3 separate regions of the Homo sapiens genome follow, and regions 1 and 3 are each linked to region 2. Evidence: promoter capture Hi-C in 16 types of primary human blood cells and fetal thymus (Javierre and others, 2016). All regions are on one chromosome and are shown on one strand. Each heading gives the region's core, a stretch centred on a gene start or on the middle of the fragment in contact. The rest is flanking DNA. Distances are from core to core; before and after follow the strand shown. Region 1 overlaps SETX (senataxin). Region 2 holds the start of FAM78A (family with sequence similarity 78 member A). Region 3 overlaps TTF1 (transcription termination factor 1).

The links. Contacts are between HindIII fragments. The CHiCAGO score rates a contact against its expected background, and 5 or more counts as called.
Region 1: a contact is called between a fragment that was not itself captured here and the fragment with the promoter of FAM78A in region 2, in 1 of 17 cell types (total CD8 T cells). The highest score is 6.2, in total CD8 T cells.
Region 3: a fragment that was not itself captured here is called in contact with the fragment with the promoter of FAM78A in region 2 in 1 of 17 cell types (total B cells); the score reaches 5.9 in total B cells.

Annotation. Positions count from the first base shown.
Region 1 is chr9:132,346,760-132,350,346 of GRCh38, reverse strand. SETX (senataxin) reads left to right here. Exons shown (of 26, transcript NM_015046.7): 3 at 912-1,095. The coding sequence starts at 919. Among named protein-coding and RNA genes, the nearest start is that of SETX, 6.4 kb to the left of the region's middle. The HindIII fragment of the contact is 4,966 bases long and covers 1-3,587 here.
Region 2 is chr9:131,274,547-131,278,536 of GRCh38, reverse strand. It overlaps FAM78A (family with sequence similarity 78 member A), which reads left to right and starts at 2,027. Exons shown (of 2, transcript NM_033387.4): 1 at 2,027-2,680. The coding sequence starts at 2,358. RefSeq lists enhancers at 218-317, 2,498-2,997, 3,158-3,207, 3,238-3,287, 2,700-3,312 and 3 more and a silencer at 678-1,857. The HindIII fragment of the contact is 5,571 bases long and covers 1-2,807 here.
Region 3 is chr9:132,381,439-132,384,946 of GRCh38, reverse strand. The region is part of intron 9 of TTF1 (transcription termination factor 1); the gene reads left to right. Among named protein-coding and RNA genes, the nearest start is that of TTF1, 24 kb to the left of the region's middle. RefSeq lists enhancers at 1,060-1,109, 2,527-2,686. The HindIII fragment of the contact is 1,886 bases long and covers 777-2,662 here.

The DNA.
Region 1 (3,587 bases), core at 295-2,794, 1.1 Mb before region 2:
ACAGAGTTTCACTCTGTCACCCAGGCTGGAGTGCAGTGGCGCAATCTTGGCTCACTGCAACCTCTGCCTCCCACGTTCAGGCAGTACTCCTGCCTCAGCCTCCCAAGCAGCTAGGATTGCAGATGCGCACCACCAGCTAATTTTTGTATTCTTTTTAGTAGAGATGGGGTTTCACCATGTTGGCCAGGCTGGTCTCGAACTGCGGACCTCAAGCAGTCTGCCCACGTCGGCCTCCCAAAGTGCTGGGCTTACAGGCATGAGCCACCGTTCCCAGCTTACTTAGGTTTTTTAACCTCCTTCTAACCTTTCTCCCTGAGTGGAGAGTTTTTAAACATTTTTAAAAACTGCCTCTCCTGTGAATTTTATTACCACCAATATATTGTGTCTCTCTTTATGTACTGTATGTTTATCTGAGCTTTATATCTAAAAAGAGGAGGGCTTTTTCACGTCCCACTAACTAGTTTTAGATCTCTTTGAGGGTGACATCACTCCTGATGAGAATGCTGAGCTAGGTCCATTCAGTTTATGAAATGAACTTAAGTTTGTAGTTGGTAACTTTTTTCCCCATTCCAAAATCTGTACTTTGAAAATATTGGTAAGTCTGGGTCTCTATATATTTTCTATCGGTACTGTGTTGTTTTGAGCCTTCTCTGTAGCACAACTTTATGTTGCCTTATGATACTTATTCCTTATACAATGCTTTTATTTTTCTGTATTTTTCGTATGTCAAAAATAGAAGGATTTTTTTAGTTTAGTGAATCAGTGATTGATAAGCCAGCCAGCAGAAGATTTGGGTTTTAGTGACACATTTTAAATTGAAACCAGGGTCACAAGTTGAAAGTGTACCTATTCTTGACACACAGTAGGTCTGAAGTTGGTTTTCTTCTTGATGTCATCTTTTCTGGCTGTAGGTACAGAATGAGCACATGTTGTTGGTGTACGCCAGGTGGTGCTTCCACCATTGACTTCCTAAAGCGCTATGCTTCCAACACTCCGTCCGGTGAATTTCAAACAGCCGACGAAGACCTCTGCTACTGCTTGGAGTGTGTGGCTGAGTACCACAAAGCAAGAGATGAATTGCCATTCTTGCATGAGGTAAAATATATTAGATGGGCAATATTTTTCAGAGCTTGATAGCTGGGAAGAGAGTAAGTTTGAACTCCGTTGGAAGTATTCAGAGAAATGATGATACGATTTCAACTTTGTGGGTTTTTTTTTTTGTTTTTGTTTTGTTTTTGTTGTTGTTAGAGATGGAGTCTCACTCTGTCACTCAGGCTGGAGTGCAGTGGAGTGATTATACATATATCATTTTACACATTCGAGTATATTCTTAGGACAAATTCCTGAAAGTGGAAGTGCTGTCTCATGATTTTCCATGGGCCACATGGGTTTTCATAGTTTGTTTTGCTATGTTTTGGAGACAAGGTCTTTGCTCTGTTGCCCAGGCTGGAAGTGCAGTGGTGCGATCACGGTTCACTGCAGCCTCAACCTTCTGGACTCAAGCCATCCTCCCACCTCATCCTCCTGAGTAGCTGGGACTACAGGCATGTGCCACCATGCTCTGCTAATTTTTAAAATTTTTTTGTAGAGACGAGGTCTTATTATTTTGCCCAGGCTGGTCCTGAACTCCTGAGCTCAAGTGATCCTTCCGGTTTGGCCCCCCAGTGTTGGAATTACAGGCATGAGCCACCATGCCTGGCCGACTTTGAAGGCTAATATAAGTCAAGTACCTAACTCATTGCCTGGTATATACTAGGTGCTGAGTAAATGTTTATCACGGATGGAATTGAAACCTGGATCAGAATTTTATGATCTGTTGCTTTTAGTCACATTGGTATAAAATAATTTAATGAAATAAAGTCATTGGGAGGGGATTTGTTTCATAATTTTTTGGTCAGTGCTATAATACATGCATGTATCTGAGTATCTGAATGGCCTGGGTTTTTGTTAGTGGGTTGTTTTTTTTTTGTTTTGTTTTTTTTTTGAGACAGAGTCTCACTCTCTTGTCCAGGCTGGAGTGCAGTGGCGTGATCTTGGCTCACTTCAACCTCTGCCTCCCAGGTGGGTTCAAGCGATTCTCCTGCCTCAGCCTCCCAAGTAGCTGGGACTAAAGGCACGTGCCACCACACCCGGCTAATTTTTTATTTTTAGTAGAGATGGGGTTTTACCATGTTGGCCCAGCTGGTCTCAAAACTCCTGACGTCAGGTGATCTGCCCACCTCGGCCTCCCAAAGTGCTGGGATTACAGCTGTGAGCCACTGCGCCTGGCCAGGGTTTTTTTTTTTTAATTGGTAATAATAACTTCTTTTTTTCTTTTTTTAATGGGCAAATGGCATAAACCTTTAAGGGCAAGCATATTTTCCAGTCATGATAACAAAAGTGAAAGATATAATTCTAAATATTTGGCTTTGAATATTTGGTTTATTTATTGATGAAAAACAGAACGTAGACCATAGAGATATATACAGTATATAGAGGAGAGGATGATTAGTAATGGACTTGTGTTGAGAAACGTGCACTTTATAAAGTTTTCTAATTATGAAGCTATCCAGCGTCTTTTATACCACAAGCTGCACTAAGGTAGTTAGCTATGGCTAGAACATAGAAGGGAAGACATAGAAGGGCCTCGGTTTTGCATTTGACAGAGAGGCTCCAGCTTCTCTTTTTTTTTTTTTTGAATGTAGTTGATAGGGATGTTGAGATATTTATAGAAAACTTCTACAAGAGAAGTGTTTAAGGCTGAGTGCTGTAGCTTACACCTGTAATCCCAGCACTTTGGGATGCTGAGGCAGGTGGATTACGAGGTCAGCAGTTTGAGACCAGCCTGGCCATCATGGTGAAAGTCCGTCTCTACTAAAATACAAAAATTAGCCAGGCGTGGTGGTGGGCGCCTGTAATCCCAGCTACTCAGGAGGCTGAGGCAGGAGAATCGCTTGAACCTGGGAGGCCAAGGTTGCGGTGAGCTGAGACCACGCCATTGCACTCCAGCCTGGGCGACAGCGAGATTCTGTCTCAAAAAAAAATAAAAAGTGTTTAAACATAGCATACTATTTTTTGTTTTCTTGTTTTTTTTCGTTTGTTTGGTTTTTTGTTTGAGATGGAGTTTCCCTGTTGTTGCCCAGGCTGGAGTGCAGTGGCGTGATCTTGGCTCACTGCAACCTCCGCCTCCTGGGTTCAAGCGATTCTCCTGCTTCAGCCTCCCGAATATGGGATTACAGGCATGCACCACTACGCCTGGCTATTTTTGTATTTTTAGTAGAGACGAGGTTCCTCCGTGTTGGTCAGGGTGGTTCTGAACTCCCGACCTCAGGTGATCCGCCCACCTCAGCCTCTCAAAGTGCTGGGATTACAGGCAGGAGCCAGTGTGCCTGGCCTGTTTTCTTTTTCTCTTAGAGGCAGGGTTTCCCTATGTCATCCAGACTGGAGTACAGTGGCACAATCATAGCTCACTGTAGCTTCAGATTCTTGGGCTCAAGTGATCCTTTTGCTTCAGCCTCCAGAGAAGCTAGGACTGTAGGCATGCACCACACCTAGCTAATTTTTCTATTTTTTTTTTTTTTAGTGACAGGGTCTTGCTTTGCTACCCA
Region 2 (3,990 bases), core at 778-3,277:
CTCTGTACAGCGCTCATCACACAGCCGGGGTCCAACAGGCAGCCAGCAGACCTGCTCGAGGGGACCCACCTCTCCCCAAACTGCTCTCCCCTCCCCGCGACCTTCCCAGCCTTGGAGCCTACAAAGCCCCCGCGCTGTCTCCACCAAGCCACTGTCTCCCTGCGGTCAGGAACCCCAGGGCAAGGGAGCCCTTCTGCGGGTGCTCCGAACCCCAGAAAGCCTCTGGTCCATAGAGTTCAAAGGGCACTGGGAGCAGCCCACCTGGCCCCGAGACAGCAGCGGAACTACACTACCCAGAATTCCCGGGGCTGGCCAAAAAGGAAATGTCGTTTGTTCAAGGAGAGGCTCAGCTCCCCGAGCAGCTGCAGAGACAGGGAGCGAGGGGGAGCGAGGGATTACCAGGGGGAGGGCGGGCTGTGTGCGGGGAGCGAGGGTGGAGAGCCAGGCGGGCGGGGAGGAGGAGGCGGCGCCCGCCCGCCGCCGCCGCCGCCGCCTGCGGACCTGCATCCCCGCGGGGCCGGCGAGCGGGCGGCGGTCCCTGCGTGCGCCGGCTGCGCTCGGCCGGCGGCGGCGGCGAGCGGACGCGGGGGCCGGGCCGGCGCAGGGGCCGAGTTTCTGCAAAGTTTGACCCGGTTGCCTTTCCGATGCTGCAGCAGAGCGAGGCAGCGCGGGGCGCGCCAGGCGGCAGCGGCGCGGCGGCGGGGCTGAGCGGCGACAGCGCGCTCACAATGATCATAAAATAAAGGAGGCGCGCGGGGTGGGGGCGAGAGAGCCCCGAGCCTCAGCCCTCCGCCCCCGGCCGCCCCCCCGAAGCCCCAAGCCGGGAGGAGGGTGGGGGCCGGGGGCGCCCACGCCGGCCCCAGACTCCAGTAGAGCCAAGGGACAGTGCCCGGGGAAGGGGGTGGGGGCGCCCCAAGAACGTGCCCGCGGCCGGGTCAGGGGCGTCCGGAGAGCGGCTGCCCGGGCCAGCGGAGTGGCCCCCGGGGCAGGTGAGTCGGCGGCGCCGCCCGAGTGGGGGCGTGCGCGCCAAAGTTCCCCGGCAGCGGCGAGCGCGCCCGACGCGTGGGGACCCGGGGCTGCTCGCGGCTGGAGAGGGGCGACAGAGGCGCTTGACGCGGCGGAGCGGGGGCACTATGCCCTCCGAGGGCCGAGGGACCCCAGCCGGGAAAGGGGTGCCCGCCGGATCCGACGGCACTGGTGGGTGGCCCTGCGCCCAGGGAGCCGGAGGGACCGGGGTGGGGAAGGGGCACCTGGCGCTGGCGGCGCGGCGGTGGGGACAGAGCAGGGCAAGTGCTCGCCGCCCCCTGCAGCGGCAGCCGCTCGCCCCCCACCCCGCCCGTCCGGGACGGTATCAGCGGAGATGTCACGGGCGGCTATTATTCGCTGGTGCGCGCGGTCGTGCGGCCGCCACTGACGGGGCGGGCGCGGGGGGCGGGGGCCACCGCCTCCGGGGAGACCGCCCAGAGCTGCGCCGTCAGCTCCGCAGCCCGCGCCCAGCGCACACGCGTCGCCGCCCCCGCGCGCCCCCCGCAGCAAAGTTCGGCTTAACTTTGAGGCTGGCCTTGACGCGCTGTCCCTTCCACCTCCCACCAGGTCCTCGGCGGCCGCGGCGAAGCAGGCGGCGGCGGCCGGAGCGCAGCCCCGGGACCCTGCACGGCGGCCGGCAGCGACAGCGGCGAAGGGACGCGGCGCCCCTGCGTGGGGACGTCCGGCCCGCGCCCGCGAGTGGGCGCCGACGGGGACCCGCGCCGCGCTCCCCCGTCACCGGCGAGCGGCCGGAGCCCTGAGCTCGCCTCCTGGAAGCCGCGGGTCGGCGCTCGCCCCGAGGGCGCCGGGACCTCGGCCGGGTGAACACAAACTGCTCTGCAATTGATTCGACCGCGCCGGGCGGGTGCGGGTGCGGGGCCCGGAGGGAGCGCGTGCGGAAGGCCGGAGGGCAGGAAGTCAGGCTTCTGCCGCGAGGGTGGCGCGGCCGCGCGGGGACAGAGCCTTCCTTATTTATGAGTCTGCCGGCGCTCGCCTGCTTCCTCCGAAGACTTCAGGGAGAGTCTGCGAGCTGCCGTCCCCGCGTGTGAGGCACAGAAGGGCTGGATGTCAGAACCGCATAATTATTCATTAAACTACAAACTTTTTTTAACCCAAAGAATATCGGTGATTTTTGTCCACTGCGAGGAGAAGAAGAGAGAGCCCAGGGCTCATGAAATGCAGCAGAATCCTTATTTATAAACAGGCCGCGGTAGTGATATATGCAACCCCAGTCTACTCAGTGAGTTTTCTATCCTATGGATATCGGTCTTGAGAGTTGAGATTGGAGAGCAGCGCCGTCTGTACTGGGTCCTGCAGCCTCTGTCCTTTCAATGCCTGGTTTTTTCTGTGACTGCTGGCCTTCCCTGGAGATCAGAGCGCTCCTGTATGCCATGGGCTGTATTCAGAGCATCGGAGGCAAAGCCAGAGTCTTCCGGGAAGGGATCACGGTGATTGATGTGAAAGCCTCCATCGACCCCGTCCCCACTAGCATCGATGAGTCCTCCAGCGTGGTGCTCCGCTACCGGACACCCCACTTCCGGGCCTCGGCCCAGGTGGTCATGCCGCCCATCCCCAAGAAGGAGACTTGGGTAGTTGGCTGGATCCAGGCGTGCAGCCACATGGAGTTCTACAACCAGTACGGCGAGCAGGGCATGTGAGTACGGCCGAGAGCCAGCTCTGGGAACTGCTAGGGATGGCCGAGCTTGGAGGCCTGGTGGGGGGCCGCGGATAGGGGGAAGGTGGAGATACCATGAAGACAGGACGGAGGCCAGAGGGAAGCTTTAGGCAGGTATGCAGGTGGCCTCATTGGCCCGGTGGCTCCCTGAAAAGTTTGCCTGTGGATCCAGATTGGAGTCACGGTCCTGCAATCTACCCTGCCACTGTTCCCCCCGGGTTCCTGTGTCCTTCCCTGCAAGATGCCGAGAAAGCAGAGAGACATTACTCCCAGTGTTTCCTGGCAGAGCAAGTGTGCCGTCCGCCTGAGGAGTGTCTGTGCCATCAGGGGTCACCAGAGAGGCTGCAGGGCTGCCCTCCAGGCCTCTGGCCCTGTGCGGGCCCATGGCAGACATTCAGGCACTCTGCAACTCCCAGACCGGTGTGTTCAGGGCTTTGCGATTGGGCCTCAATTATCTTTCTGGCTTTTACCAGTGTATGCCAGGAGCTGGGGGAGTGCTTCCCCGTTCCAAACGGCACTGTGTTTGAGAGCACAGTTAGTTTTAGAAGCCCGATTTCTTCACAGTGTATCGCTTTCTGTCTCCAAGGCAGAAGACCGCTTTATGCAGACAAGTCCAGTGTCCCTCTGGCGAGGCCCTAACAGGAACAGCAAAGAGGAGCCTCTCCTCTGCAGCCCCAAAGCCCGGTCTCCAGAGTGTGCCTAGGGTATTGGGGGTCCCGGTGAGGACCCTGGGACCCTGGGGCTCCTTTCCTGGCCTGCTTCCTGACCCCAGAGAAGGCCGTCCCCAGGGTGAAAAGAGCTGCATTTAGGCAGAGTTGGGAGAGTGACTTAATCTGAAGGTTCACCCTAAGACAGGGATGGTGAAAATAGCTGTTTCTGAGCGTAAGGACCCTTTGGAGAGAGCTAGGCAGGCCCCGGCGGGCAGCCCACCCATGCGGCCCCGTGACTGGCCGCTGACACTCCCAGAACCTCTCTCAGTGTCTACCCTGTGGCCCCGTGACTGGCCGCTGACACTCCCAGAGCCTCTCTCAGTGTCTACCCTGTGCAGCTTCACGTCCCCGTTTTGCAAGTGGGGAAAAGAGGAGAATTTCCCCAGGAGCTGGAACTTATCACAGATTTAAGAATCTCATGGGCCACCTGTAAATGAGAGGGGTGGAGGATGGCGGGACACCAAGTCTGGTGGCTTCTCTACTTAATGACTCCAAAGTTCTAAAGGAAACATGAGGATCACAGTAACCCTTAAGTCCAGCGTGTGACAGTGACTGTCCCAAAGAGGTACATGGGGGGCA
Region 3 (3,508 bases), core at 470-2,969, 1.1 Mb before region 2:
CGGTGGCTCTTGCCTGTAATCCCAGCACTTTGGGAGGCCAAGGTGGGCAGATCACCTGAGGTCAGGAGTTCAAGACCAGCCTGGCCAACATGGTTCAACTCCGTCTCTACAAAAATACAAAAATTAGCCAGGCATGATGGCAGGTGCCTGTAGTCCCAGCTACTCAGGAGGCTGAGGCAGGAGAATCGCTTGAACCCAGGAGGCGGAGGTTGCAGTAAGCCGAGATCATGCCATTGCACTCCAGCCTGGGCAACAGAGCAAGACTCCATCTCAAAAGAAAAGAAAGAAAGAAAGAAACCTGAAAGGAAACACAGTGAAAAGTGTCCCCTTACCACTCACCAGCCACGCGTAGCCCTACAGGAAACCAGTATCTATTTTCCGTAGATGGTTTATGCAAAATGTCTGCAGGATCTGAGTGATGTTCTGATGGCTAATGTTGGCTATTTATACCTACTCTCTTTTGTTACTGCTTGAATAGGAGTTACCAGAGATTGTCTTTTCAAAGCACCAGCTTTGATTGCGTTGACCCTATCTTGTGATTATTCTAATGTCAGCTCTTTATCACGCCCTCCCTTCAGCTCTCTTTGAGTTTATTTTGCTGCTGTTCTTCAACTTCTTGAGATGGGTTCTTAGCTCATTTTCCATTTTTCTTTCTTTGTAATATACATTTAAGGCCATATGTTTTCTTCTAAGTACTGCTTTATTAGCAATGCCCAATTATTTTTTTCAGAAACTTTATTAGGAAAATTTTAGACAGATACAAAATAAATGAAGCTTCATGTACCCATCACCCCAGTTCAGCAACTGTCAAAATCCAGCCGTCCTTATTAAACATCTACATTCACTCCCTCCAATTACTGTTATCTGTTTTGGTAAATTTTACATACTTTGCAGCCTTAGTACCATTCAAAATTCAAATAATTCTAGTAATTCCATTTCTAGAAATACATTCTACAAAACAACTTCACACATACATGAAATGACTTGTATACAGAGTAACTGACTGCAAAAGGCCTGTTAATAGGGGACTGGCTATATATGTATTTTACCCATATAGTGACATTCTTTATAGCTACAAAAAATCATGAGAAAGCCCCTCGGTGGTGGGGCAAAGAAAGCGCCAAGATACAGTCTTGGGTGAGGAAACACTGCGTGGTTGCAGGGTGGTGTGCCAGCGCCACAGAACAGGAAAGCTGCAATGTGTGTGTTTATTCGAGACTTCCAGTCTCTGTGCTCTGGACCAAATAAATCAGACCAGCCCTCCCTCCAGCCCACCTGCCACCGAAGACACCCAAGAAAGGCAAATGAAATGTATGCAAAGTCTCTTAAAGGCTTCAAAAAGCTAAACAAGTTGCAAGAGTAACAGAAAGAACCCCGCATCCCCTTTACCCATAGTCGCCTCTTCTGAACATTCTGCTACGTTCACTTTATCATCCCTCTCTCCCTCCTCCAAGGGAATACGGTTTTTCCCATAACCATTCAAGAGTTAGTGGCAGATACCACTTCCCAAGCAAGGATGTTATTTTACATAACCATAGTACAATCGAGAATCAGGAAGTTTCACATTGATATAGTACACCCTCTAAAACATAGTCCACATTCAGATTTCACCAGTTGTCCCAGTAATGTCCTTGATAGCATTTTCCCCCTTTAATAATTGTTCCATTTCCTTAGTGTCCTTTTTTTTTTTTTTTTTGAAGACAAGAGTCTTACTCTGTTGCCCAGGCTGGAGTTACAATGGTGTGATCTCAGCTCACTGCACCCTCTGCCTCCCAGGTTCAAGCAATTCTTGTGCCTCAGCCACCTAAATAGCTGGAATTAGAGGCATGCACCACCCTGCCTGGCTAGTTTTTTTTTTAATTAGTTAATTTTTTTTTTTTTGAGACGGATTTTCACTCTTGTTGCCCAGGCTGGAGTGCAACAGCGTGATCTCGGTTCCCTGCAACCTCCACCTTCCGGGTTCAAGCAGTTCTCCTGTCTCAGCCTCTGAATAGCTGGGATTACAGGTACCTGCCACCATACCTGGCTAATTTTTGTATTTTTAATAGAGACAAGGTTTCACCATGTTGGCCAGGCTGGTCTCAAACTCCTTACCTCAAGTGATCCACCCACCTCAGCCTCCCAAATTGCTGAGATTACAGGCGTGAGCCACCACACCTGACTTTTTTTTTTTTTTTTTTTTTTTGTATTTTTAGTAGAGATGGGGTTTTGCCATGTTGCCCAGGCTATGCTTGAACTCCTGGCCTTAATCCCTCTCAAAGTGCTGGGATTACAGACGTGAGCCACCATGCCCGGCCTTCCTTACTGTCTTTTAATCTATGAAGATCGTCCATCTTTGCTGTTGATGGTAGTGAAATTTTGGAGGAATACAGGCTAGGTGTTTTGTAGAATGTCCGCAGTTGGCACTTGTCTGGTATTTCCTCTTGAGGAGATTCAGGCTGTGTCCTTCGGGCAGGAGTACAGCATATTCCTGATGTTTGCTATCACTGCATTACGTCACAAGGTACATAATTCTCGTTTTGACTTTTTTTTATTATTTAGCTAAGGCAGCATCTGCCTCTTTTCCCCACTGTATAAAAATACTGGTTCTTCCTTTGGTGGTAAGAAATGGCTGTGGGAAGACATTTTAAGACTATATAAAGATCCTGTTCCTCTTTAAGCTTCTGTCAGTTTCCTTGTGGTTTTCATTTGCATTTCTCATGTGAGAAGTGAGATTGAACATGGCTCTTGTGTTTATAAGCTGTCTCTCTTTCCCTTCACTGTGAGCCTTCACTGCACATAGCTCTTGCATTTTAATCAGTTCCTGCGATTGGAGGGCCCACCACTCTCGATATCTCAACTTACTGCTTGCTACGCAAGGGAGAGCTGGGCTGCAGAGCACAGGCCCTCTACGTGTTGCCGAGCATCATGGGGCTCGGGGATCAGTGACTTTCAGATGCAGGGATGTTGAGGGATTGTTTGGCCTTTGGTTTTGGAAGGTAGACAGTGGGGTGAGGCTGCTGCAGCCTGGCTGACTTCCAGAAGTGTGGCTACTGGTGTGAGGTCGCCATTGGTCCATTAGGAAAGATTTTGTTTTGTTTCTAGTCAATATTCTGCGGAACCATTAGGGAGGGTTTAAACTGGTTCTGGTGGTTAGTTATTTATGGTTTGGGATTATAACCAAACAAGAAAGGACAATCCGTCTCTTCCTTCTTGAATGTGGAGAATTGGAAATTCTTAGTCCAGGCCCTGCCAGGACTCACAGATACATGCCGTGGTCCCAAAGTCTTTTCTTTTCTAGCTCATCTGAGGGGCAGGGTGCCCACTCTTCAGCATCATAGGCCCCAAGCAGGGAGGGTGCCAGGTGCTTTGAAGGAGGTGACGCTGATGTGCACCCCACCAGCTCCCATCTTGAGAACGACTTACATTGACAAAGCCCTTTATAATGTCAAACCACTTTTTAAAAATTCAACTTTTCGGCCGGGCGTGGTGATTCACGCCTGTAATCCCAGCACTTTGGGAGGCCAAG